Linked DNA regions of Homo sapiens: region 2 is linked to region 1. Evidence: promoter capture Hi-C in human tissues and cell types (Jung and others, 2019). All regions are on one chromosome and are shown on one strand. The core of a region is centred on a gene start or on the middle of the fragment in contact, and the rest is flanking DNA. Distances in the headings are between cores, read along the strand shown.

Region 1 (5,608 bases), core at 1,074-3,573:
CAGGCCCTAGCAAGGAAGAAGCAAGGAAAGCGGGAATATACGGAGTTACAGAGATCTGGGTATGAGCTTAACTGTGTCATTCCTAGCTATGGAAACTTAGGCAAGTCACTTCCTAAGCCTTAGTTTCCTCATGTGTAAAACTGAATACAGTAGAGCCTACTTAGAAGGACTGTCATGAAAACTGAGTAAAGAAGTAGATACAAGACTAAAAATTACTAGATTTTGAGAACTTACTATGTGCCAGATCCTAGGCATGCTAGTTTACTTCACTAAATCCTCACAACAATTCTGTGACATTGGTCTTGTTATCATAACCCCATTTTACAGATGAAGAGCCAAGGCACTGGGTGGTTAAGTAACTCATTCAAGGCCACAAAGTCAGGAAGAGATAGAGCTAGGACTTAAAGTCAGGAAGAGATAGAGCTAGGACTTGAACCCAGGGTATCTGACTCTAGGTCAGAGTGCCTCAACTTTGGCATTACTGACATTTTAGGCAGGATAATTCCTTACTGCGGGGGGGAAGGGCGTATCCCACACATTGTCAAATGTTTAACATAAAACATTATGTTTAATGTTTAATCTACCCACTTGAGGCCAGTAGTATCCCCCACCCTGTGACAACCAAAAAACATCTCCAGACATTGCCTAATGTCTCCTAGGAGACAAAGCCAGACTTGGTTAAGAACCACTGCTTTACAGTCTAGCACAGGACTAAATGCTCAATACCTAAGGGTTCCCTTTTTTTTTTCTGGTGGTTGTTGTTGTTGTTTTGTCTGTCTCCGAGCCCAAACACCTCACTCACAGAGCCACTGCCCCTTCAAGCTGTAATGGATCTTATATAGGATAAATTATTCCACTCATTCCCCTGGAGGTCTCACTTTCTATCTGCTATCGTAGCTTGGGGGTACAGGGAAAAAGGGCTTAGGCAGATGACCTTGAATAGTTCCACTTCTTCTTCCCCAAAGCCTACCACTTTCAGTGGGCCGGGGGACCGGTGGTCAGAATGGAGTTAGTGGCAATACCATACCTGCCTCATGATAACGGATCTTTGTTTAATAAATGAAGAAGATTCTGCCCTTCACAGGGATTACCACACTCCTTCAGGATTATCTGAACTGAAGATTTATCACTTTGTTCCTCAGCACCTGAACTCTGCTCATCTTCATATACTCATCCAGTTTCATACATTACTTTTAGGTCCTTGGGTCCCCTGAACTCCCTCTGTCTCCCATGCAGCGATTTAAGGAAAATCTCTTTAGCAGCCCAAGACACCAATCCACAAATCTACTCAGGGTCCTTTGATTTTATAGCCCAGTTAGGACATCTCCACCCCACGATTCAATCCTCTCCAAACCCTGTCCCCAACCCTCTTACAATTCCAAATTCCAATCTTTGGGGCTGTATATTGCAACCCTCGTCAATTCCTCACTCATATGCCCCAAATCCCTCGGACTCAGATCGTTTAATCCCTATTTCCAAATCTCTGCCACACTCAGCCCCGCACCTCAGTTCAACGCCCCAATTCCTCACCCCAGATTTCTGCTCTCCCTCAATCTGAGCCCCCATCTCCTGCATTCCATCGGGCACTGTGCTGCCCTCATACCCTGCTCCTTCCTCTTATGCACTGAATGTCATGTGCTGCCTTCACACCTCAGCCAGCTCCCTTCTTTCTGCTAACAAGATAGAGTCCCTCAAGAACTCACCCCACCCCCTCAATCTCACCCTCAGCCCACTCCGAAAACCCTTTCTCAATAGCACTTAGGATCGCCCTAGACCTTGCTCCTATCATCTCAGACCCTGTCCTTGCCAGATGCCTAGCGCCCCCAGATTTCCTCAAATCTCATCGGGGCCCCCCAGTTCCTTCATATTTCTGAAATTCTGCACCCAGGTCCCTCCAGGGCCCTGATTCCCTCCCATCTCCCACATGCTACACCCCGTTCCTCCTCAGGGCCCCGACATTACCTCATACCTCCCGAGATGCTGCAACCGCAAATCTCTTCAGAGCCCCTCGCTCCCCTCCCCCAGCTGCATCTCCTCGGATCTCCTCAGCCCCACGAATCCCTCCCGAGCCTGCCCCTCGCAGCCCCACCCCCACCCTAGTCCTGCCCCCCCCAGATCCGGTCCCCACACCCTGCCATTCGGGCGCGGCCGCTGCACGCCGGCACGTTCCCCCGCCTGGCCGCTGAGCCACGGCCCACGACTCCGGCCGCGGTCCCCAGTCCCCAACCCTCCTTCCCGCCCCCTACCTGACCGCCCGCGGCTCCGACGAGTCCACCGCCGGCAGCCCACCCGCCTGCCTCCCTCTGCGCACGCGCCGTTGAGCACCCCTTGCCGGGCGCCAATTCGCAGAGCTCCCTGTCCGTCACTGAGCCCCGCCTCCCCAGCATGCTGGGGCTTGTCGTGCAGCTGGCCCCAAGCGCGCGGGGCAAGGCGGCCCTGCAGGGGTGAGCTTTCCTCTGAGAACCCGGGGCCTTAGCGACACGTAATCCAGTTTTCCGTCTCCTTGGTGCAGATGAAGAAACCGACGCCCATGGGCGAAAGGGACCTGCTCAAGTTCACTCAGTAAGTCAGGAGATAAGCCAGAATGCGTATCTGACTCCAGTCTCAATGTCTACCCCTTCACAAAACGGTAGCCTCCAGGGTAGTCCTCAGCAAAGCGTTGGCACCTTACTGAATCTGTTTTTCCATCTGAGAAATGGGCCAACGGAAAAATCAAACTTCCATTCTGGGGAAGTCGAGAACCGGGACTCCCTAGGAAGGGCAGTGCTTTGGCCTCATGTTCTGTGCTCTGACAGAGAGCTGCACTAGAGACAAGTTTATCCATGAACACATTGCTCTGTAAAGGAATGTTTTGCCTACTCAGCTGGGAGGCCGACAGCAGAGGCAGACTTGGGGAGTACACTCTGCAGCCCCTGTCCCTGCAGACTGAAGGTACCCGGGAACCCAAACCAAGTGTAGTTTTGCTCGGGTGAAGGTGGAGGAATCTTACCAGGTGGGAGGTGATCTGGCCTGAGATTTGAGGGAATCTGGGGCACTAGGCATCTGGCAAGGACGAGGTCTGATACAGGACTGGCTGGCCACGACCTGCAGTCCCTGAAGTAGTTTGGGGCCAATCACCTACTCTCCAAGGTGACTATACTGTACAGCTTAGGAGCACAAAGGAGTTTGAAGTAGGATGGACTTGGATTTGAAATTCCCCTTAGCTATGTGACCCTGCACAATGATAAAACAATAAACAAAAACAATGACTAACATCTTTGAACACTTGCTGTCTGGCTACAGCTGAGGACTTCAGGTGCATAGCTCACTAAATCCTCATAAGGACCTAATGAGATAAGGCAGCTGATGGTTAACCTACACCTGTTGTGTAACCTAGGTGGTTACACAAGGCCACATATACCTAAGTGTTGGAGCCCAAATTTGTACCCAATTCTATCTGAGAACCCACTCTCTTAACCTTGTTTACTCTTTCTCCCCATTTTCTAAATTTCTAATTGAAGTTTGCCATGAAGATAAGCCAAGATTATGGTAGTTTGCACTTAATGATAACTATATTTGAAAAATTGTAATTAGCAGGTAGGGGATAAGGGAGAGGTAATGCCAAATGATTTCTCACTTAGACCAGTTGGGGAGACTTTGCACCCGTTTAAAATTTTTTTTTTTCCTGAAAACCACAGTTATCAGCCCAAAGTATAAATTTAGGACTGTTCATAGTCTTACATATATACATATTATATATGTGTGTATATGTATCAATACAGACATACTGATGTTTCCCTAATTACAGAGGAGTGTTAAAAATACTCCTGGGGATCTAGCTCAAGCAAGTGTCTTGAAAAAAAAAAATCTCTCTTCTCCCTTAAAACAAAAATCAGTGTTTGACTCTTCTTTAATGTTTATTACCAGTTAAATGAATTATTATACCTCTCACAAAATCTTAGAGTAGAATAAGCATTCTAGGAAATGCACTCAATTTTTATCTTATAGCTTGACATATCCTGGCACAATATTAGAATTCCTCTTACACAGAGGCATTTAAAAAATAATCTTTGTGGAGTGCTTTAAACACTCTTTATTCAGCATTTTAATGTAACAGATTTTTATTTAACACTTAAATCACCTATATCAGTGGAACCACCTGAGGAGTTTACCTTGCCCACTGCCTAGACAGAGCTGATTCATCAAGACAGGGGAATTGCAATAGTTAAAGAGTAATTCACGCAGAGTCAGCTGTGCGGGAGACTGGAGTTTTATGATTACTCAAGTCATCTCCCTGAGCATTTGGGGAACAGAGATTTTAAGGATAACTTGGTGGGTTGGGGGAAGCCAGTGAGCCAGGAGCGCTGTTGGTCAGGGATGAAATCATAGGGAGTCGAAGCTGTCTCCTTGCAGTGAGTCAGTTCCTGAGTGGGGGGGCCACAAGATCAGATGAGTGAGTTTATTGATCTGGGTGGTGCCAGCTGATCCATCAAGTGCAGGGTCTGCAAAATATCTCAAGCACTGATCTCAGAAGCATTTTAGGGAGGCTCAGCATCTTGTAACCTCCAGCTGCATGACTCCTAAACCGCAATTTCTAATCTTGTGGCTAATGTTAGTCCTACAAAGGCAATCTAGTACCCAGGCAAGGAGGTCTGCTTTGGGATAGGGTTGTTACTGTCTTTGTTTAAACTATGAACTACAGACTAAATTTCTCCCAAAGTTAGTTCAGCCTATGCCCAGGAATGAACAAGGACAGCTTGGAAGTTAGAAGCAAGATGGAGTCAGTTAAGTTAGATCTCTTTTACTGTCTCAATCATAATTTTGCAAAGGCAGTTTCAGTCCATCACTTTGGGTTTTGTAACACCTTAATCTTAAAGTGTAGGGTATGAAGATGGGAAAAGGCTGTCGATTGCTCTGGGTTCTTCTTGCTGACAGGGGACGTAGTGGGAATGGGAGTCAACCCCAAGGTGAGAAGAGTGGGACCACTTTCAAGTGTCTGAGCGACTCATGCAGGTCTGGCTGGGCTTCTAAGGCTTGCATGGCAAAAACATTAGTACTCTCATCTATAGTTTTAGTACAGTATTTAGGTGAACAGCCTACTATAAGGTAAATAATGAGTCCTAGGATGAGGAGTACAATACTCAATTTTAAAAGCAAAGATTTGAAAGCATTAGTCTGGCGACTTCCAACCCACAAATAATTTAGGATTTAGTCAAAATTGTAGAAAAAACTCAAGGACAGCTAACAACAGCTAACAATAGGTTTCCTCTTGAAGCATAATTTCTCTCTCTCCAGACCCCATTTTTATTAAAAACAAATCATGATAGAACTGATTTGTTTACAGAAATGTACTTTAGTCTTACTATACTTGGCCTGATTATTTGCATAAAGTGCAGCAAGAATAATTATTTTTCACTTAGGGTCTTTTTTGTTTAAATTAGCTTTGATGGAACTCTGTTCCATGAGGAATCTCAGATAAGAGTTTTTAAAAGCCAAGCTCAGCCATGGGTTTGTATCCTCAAATACCTATGAGTTGGGTAAATTCCTCTCTTCTCAAGGTCCCAAAATAACTTGGGGTTCCTGGGCCTGTTAGAAAGTGACATTCTTTACTTACCACAGGTCAGGAACC
Region 2 (5,967 bases), core at 55-2,554, 1.1 Mb after region 1:
ACTTATTACACAACTTGGCACATATTGAACCTTAAGATAATGATAAATATTAGGGATGAAAGTGAGAAAGGAGAAAAAATGTAAGACAACAATGCTTTCTATCATGTAGAAAGAGCACTACATGAGGAGTCAGGACACCCGATTCTTAGTATAATACCAGCTCCGAGAGTAATTTTCTGTGTGATCTCTGATAAATTCCTTTCTATCTGTGTGCTTCAGAGGTCTTATCAGGAAGACTGGATGGTCTTTGTGCCTTCTTCCATACTGTGATCTCTATCTCAACAAAGCTCTAATTCCTCAATTCTCTCATCAGCCAAGGAATGTGACATGCCAGGGTCCTTCTGACTTCATAAAATAGGGTCCTTCTGGTTTCATAAAATCCTTTGCCTTCCCTATCTCCTTCCCCATCTTCCTAGCCTTTGTGCTATGACCTCCTTCTCACTGCCTTTTTCTGTACATAAGGAGGCAGTCTCACCCTCTCCTACAACCTTTGCCTTAAATGTGGGGAGAAGGACCCAAGAACCCAGCCATGGAGAAGAACCACCAAGTGCTTTTAGAGATTAAGCCATGGTCTCATGAGAAGACAGTGACTGTCAAGTGGAAAAACTGACAACAGCTTTAGCTCCAGTCATGCAAATAGTATTACTGCAAAGACATATATTTAGCATCTATGACATCAGCTTGATTTACCTTGATTAATGGAGCAATTTGCTGTGCATTTTTCCAAATGCTGTAATCAATTAGGGCTCAAAATAGATTAGAAAACCTCTATGACGTGGACACAGTCCAAAAAGGCTAATGCATTATAAAATATATGTATATATCCTTTCCAACGATGCAGTGGATGAAGATTTGTGTCTTGGACTAACTCAGAGGGGTTCAGGTTTATACAATTAGGCATCAGGCGCTTTTGATTTCAGGTATTGTTAAAGGCAAGTCAGGGGGAAAGGCGCCATGTAAATGCTACTCTATCTTGATCTAGCTTCTCAACATCTCTCCATGTATACTCTTTTCCCTACTCCAGTCCATTCTCACAGTGATGTTTATAAAACACTCAGCTGGTTATAGCCCACTTGTAACAACAGAATAGGCCCTAATCTCTTAGATTGACATTGACAGCCCTTTGAAATTGGCACCATAGTATTATTTCAACTTCATCTCCTCCTATGTCCCACACATTCCCCATATTTTATCTTTCTATATTTCTCAAAGTTCCCCCCAAATATATCACGTACTTCCTTACAACCCTGTATTTGACCCTACCTTCTCTCTGCCTTGAATAATAAAAATAACTCATATTTATGGAGTATTTTTTTATAGACCAGGCACTGTGCTAAATGTTCACCAAATATTATTGCCCTTAATTCTCCTAACCACCCCATAATCTGTGAAAGTTGAAATGCTTGATCTAAGTTGTACGTAAGTCAGTAACAACATTAAGATCAAACCCTGGTCGATCTAACCCCAAAGCCCTTGGTCTTTCTTCCTCTCCTTCTGTATAATTCCTTTATCTTTTCTTCTCAATCCTTCTCCACATTTCACACTCTCACTGTGCTCTTCTTTCCAGGAGGAAAGATACCTTTCAGACTTGGTGACAGTTAGATGCTAGAAGCTGAATGTGTGGCCCATTCAGAAATGAAATTACTCTGTGCCCAATTGACACGAGCTACTGCTCTAGGTAAAGTACCCTCCCAGGCACTAAATATGGTGCAGATGGATGGAGTGTAGTTTAAGGATTGAACATAACAAAGCACTGCTTGACAGAGACTCAAGTGACTTGGGATTAAATTATAGATATTCTATTAACCACGTGTATAATTTTGAGTCTCTCAGAATCTATACTTCATTGTCAATAAATAGAGATAATATTCTATATGATGCATTAATCAAATTGATATGAAGATATAAAAGTGTTTCATCAAGTACTTCACACAAAGTGTTGATTTTCCTACCTGGCACCCGGCCTGAAGGAACTTCTGATCCTAGCAGCTTTTGCTTTAAATTCTATGTAAAACTGTAAACTACAAAGCAGTGTGAATTCCTGTTAATTTCAGACAAGAATTAGAGAGCTGACTGTAAAACCATTGAAATTGCTGCCTGGTTCTTCAGGACTTCTCCAGGACCTCATAAAACCTGGGCCATAACTGGTCCTCAAAACCTGAGCCATAACTTGTCCTCAAAATACACCCACCAAATGAATGAATATTGCTGTCACTGCAGGAGAACCAGACTATGAAGTCAGAAACATGGGCTCTGGTCCCAGCTCTACTCCTCACTGACACTAGTAAGTAAATTCAGTTTCTTGTGGACTTGGTTCTTTATCTTTAAAAAGAGCATGTTAAAACCCTGACTTCATAAAGTTGTTATGTAGAGCAAATAAAACTCCACATGGAAGTGCATTGTAAACTATAAAGAGATGTGTATGTACAAGAAGACGAACAGAATTGACTTGTATTCCTAAAGGAATGCATAGGCATACAAGTGCTGTGCTTGAGGCTCTCAGAAGATCCCCATGCAAAAGTCTATAATTCAAGGTCTAGTGGTTTATTCCATTTTTACAAATGACCATTCATCATCTTGACCTGACACTTAGCGAATGAACCATAATATCCTCCAATCCACTGCTTAGCATATTCTTGGCAGAAAGAACATTAGAGACCAATGGATCCTCTACTTTCTTTTCCCCAGTACACACCATTGTACTGATGAGGAGCCTGACCCCCAGAGGGCAGGGACTGTGTCTTCCCCTTTCTTCAGCACTTAGCACAGTGCCTCGCCTATTACATTTTCATTAACTCTTCAATAAGTGAATAAATAAACAAATTAAATGACTTGTTGAAGCTACCCTCAGTGCCTAGCACAGGGCCTGACCTACTATGTTTAGTTGTTGTTGTTGTTTTTAATGAAATGAATAAATGGATAAATGCTCATCCAGCAAGTTGGTAGCAGTGATGGGACTCAGACCCCTTCCTTGGCAATCTGTATCCCAACATATCACAAGCTGGTATTCATCCTGGCTTGCATTTGCTGCTAATTGACTTAGGTTTGTGCATTTGTTTCTACATATGTACCTCTAACTCTGTAGAAGAAACAAGAGAGTTTGTCACTATGTCTCTGGGAATATATAGCTTAGGGTTTGTCACCCAGTAGGTAATCAATAAATATGTCTTAATTATATGAACCTGGGCAAATTAAAGAAGCTATCTGGAGTGTGACTTCTGAGGAAGAGACCTGGTAGGAAGTATTTGTGTGGTCTCATAATGTATTTATTTACAAGACTAATGTTTGTCTAAGCTCCAGAAGATTTCTGGCTTCATTTTGGTAACTGTGTGCATTTGTGTTATTTTCCATCCTTCTGGGGAAAATAGCCCATCCTTCTGGGGTCCAGCTGGGCTACAAAGTAATAAACAGACATAAAAATTGGCTGACTCCATGACAAGAAGTGGGAGCAACCCAAACCCTTTAAGAAATTCTTCTCTCAGTAGTGAATGCACCAGCATCCAGCTAGTTCAAGCAGGGTTCAAGTAAGCACTCTAACTTTGTGAAAACTATTTATGACCAGCACAATAAAACCTCTCTACCCACTCAGTTGCTGGGCATTTGAGACATAGTTGTTTTTCTTTCAGTCTGTTCTTTGACAGCAATCAACAACATTGAGTTACTTTGACAATTTTGACAACTAATTCAGGGTATGAGCAAGCCTCTCCTTTTGTTTACTTAGTATATCCCTTTGCAATTTAAGAATTCTACGGTGTCTGATACAAATCAATGGTCTTACTTCCTTCTGAATGGCTGAACCAAGTTTAAAACTACTGTCTAAAATATCTTACTGGATATTCTGAAGAGACCAAATCAGTTTCAAAGGTTCATCATGTCTCTTTGCTCATGACATTTACTTCACAATCCCATAAACTCCAAAAAAATTACTATAGTATGCATTTGACAGATGACTCATTTGCCAATCTGTTTATTTCATGTATATTGAATTGATAAACTTGTCCCAAAAGATAGATTAAGAGGTAAAAGCCATGGTCTGTGTCCTAAAGGATACCATGTCCAGGCATGAAAAATGAAGCATGAGTATCAATTTCTGTGGCACCAGAGAGTGCTCACTGACACAGACAAGAGACACACAGTGCCCCAGAAACTCAGAGAGAAGAATGGCCACTTCTGGAGGTGGACAAGAGGAGGGAGATGGAATTTAGAAGGCTTCATGGGACAGGTAATCCTTGCACTGGGCCAGAACTGTGTATGCAATACTAATCTGTTATTAGTGAGGGAAAGAGGTGGGAGCCTAACCCACCCAGGTGAAAAGCATGGTTTTTACCAGCTCACTGTGCCCTCTTACTCTACTGAAGTCCTATGGTCCTAAGCATGTACCCTCTTGGGGCTATTCTTGAAAAAATAACAGTAACCAAATTTGCTGTGTGCCAGATATCATTTGAAGTGCTTAACATTTGCTAGCTCCTCACCACAAAGGTAAATGAAGTAGGTTGTCTCCATTTTTGTACGTGTGGAAAACATACTTGAGTTTAAATACAAGTGTTGGGCACTTGACCAACATCAAGAGCTAGTCAGTAGAGCAGCTGGGCTCCAATTCAGTTCTCTCCTACTCCTTAACCTACCTTCCTTAAACCCCGTGCTAACTACCTTCTTGGTCAGATGGTTTAATTGCTCCGTGGGGGAAAATGAGGGTTGGTAGAATCATCTAGGGAGATATCCCTTTGGAACTTACTCCCCCAGGGCTCCATAATTGTGCTTGTATGAAACAGAACTCCCAGTGCCTACCATCTGAGCTCATGATCAAAGGAGATTGCAGAAACTCACAAATGTCAAGTGCCCATTTATCCCAGATTGTACTGTGGTGCTTTAATCTACTCAGTCTGTTTACCCTCACAAGAAGCCTGTGGACAATGGATTATTTTCTTCATGTTGTAGATGAGAAATCTGTCTTGTAAAGTTTCAGAAGTTGCTTGATTTCCCACAGCCAGTCTCTACCAAGGCAGCATTTACAAGTAGGATATTTACCTCCAAAACCCATCTTATTTTAACTTTCTCCCTCTGTAGATTGCACAGTACCCTGTAGCATATGGCTTAATGATCACAGTGAAAAAGGAAAATTAAAAAAAAATAGAAAGGATAAGGAAAAGAAGATATAAAAGGAGAAAGAGGAGGAGGAGGGAAAGGATAATTAAAAAAAAGTAGTCAGAATGTACTTACATGCAAGCTACTTACATGCTTTAAAGGAGCCACAGTATTAAGTAATATTCACTAAGGTAGGACATTGACATAAATATTCAGGGGACATTTTCCGACCTGGATTTTGAATAAAAGAAAGACCAGAACGTAAGAGGGAGTAGGGTTTTAGTGCTCTGAGATGCCAGATTGGACACAGGAGGAAAATCTGCAAGACTAGCCTAGTGTAGCAATGGTGTTGGTTTTTACATAGCAATTTGCTGAAACATCTTCCACAGGATTACATGGCTCTCTTAACTTGAAAGTCCCTTTTATTTGTTTATTAAATTAACTGATAGACAAAAGGTTCAGTCTTTCACTATCAGCCTACGGAATTTATTAGTCAAATAACGATTGCCCTCACCTCAAGTTATGTTTTCATTGTATTTGTTCCATGTCTTCTGAGCTCTGGCTTCCTTGGAATGAGGCTTGCATTCTCGGCAAGATCCGTTAAATCTCTCTACTTTGCTGATAGCAAGCAGCCCAGAAACAAAACAAAAGCATTGAATCTATATTTCCCTGCCCCCTTTCTTTCTTCCTTTTCCTCTCTTCTCTAACCCCTCCCCTAGAGAACACCAGAGAAATAAAAAGTCGTAATTAAGAAAAGGACTAAGAATAAATTCCATGCATTTAACCCAAGTTCCATCTCTGAACCCAGGAGGATTGGTGCATAGCTGTGGTTGTGCTAGAGGAAGCGTGCTGGGAACTCATGCTGTGCTTTCAACACAAATA

Evidence for each region. Contacts are between HindIII fragments. The study calls those that stand out against the background at their distance.
Region 2: a fragment that was not itself captured here is called in contact with the fragment with the promoter of TRIM32 in region 1 in 1 of the 25 tissues and cell types used here (dorsolateral prefrontal cortex).

The regions. Positions count from the first base shown.
Region 1 is chr9:116,684,020-116,689,627 of GRCh38, reverse strand. It overlaps TRIM32 (tripartite motif containing 32), which reads right to left and starts at 2,323. Exons shown (of 2, transcript NM_012210.4): 1 at 2,247-2,323. All of the region lies in intron 16 of ASTN2 (astrotactin 2), which reads left to right. RefSeq lists enhancers at 1,847-1,896, 2,337-2,656 and a silencer at 2,067-2,266. The HindIII fragment of the contact is 20,788 bases long and covers 1-5,608 here.
Region 2 is chr9:115,596,378-115,602,344 of GRCh38, reverse strand. It overlaps LOC105376235 (a long non-coding RNA gene), which reads right to left and starts at 5,662. Exons shown (of 7, transcript XR_930270.3): 1 at 5,600-5,662; 2 at 5,236-5,316. The HindIII fragment of the contact is 4,569 bases long and covers 1-3,588 here.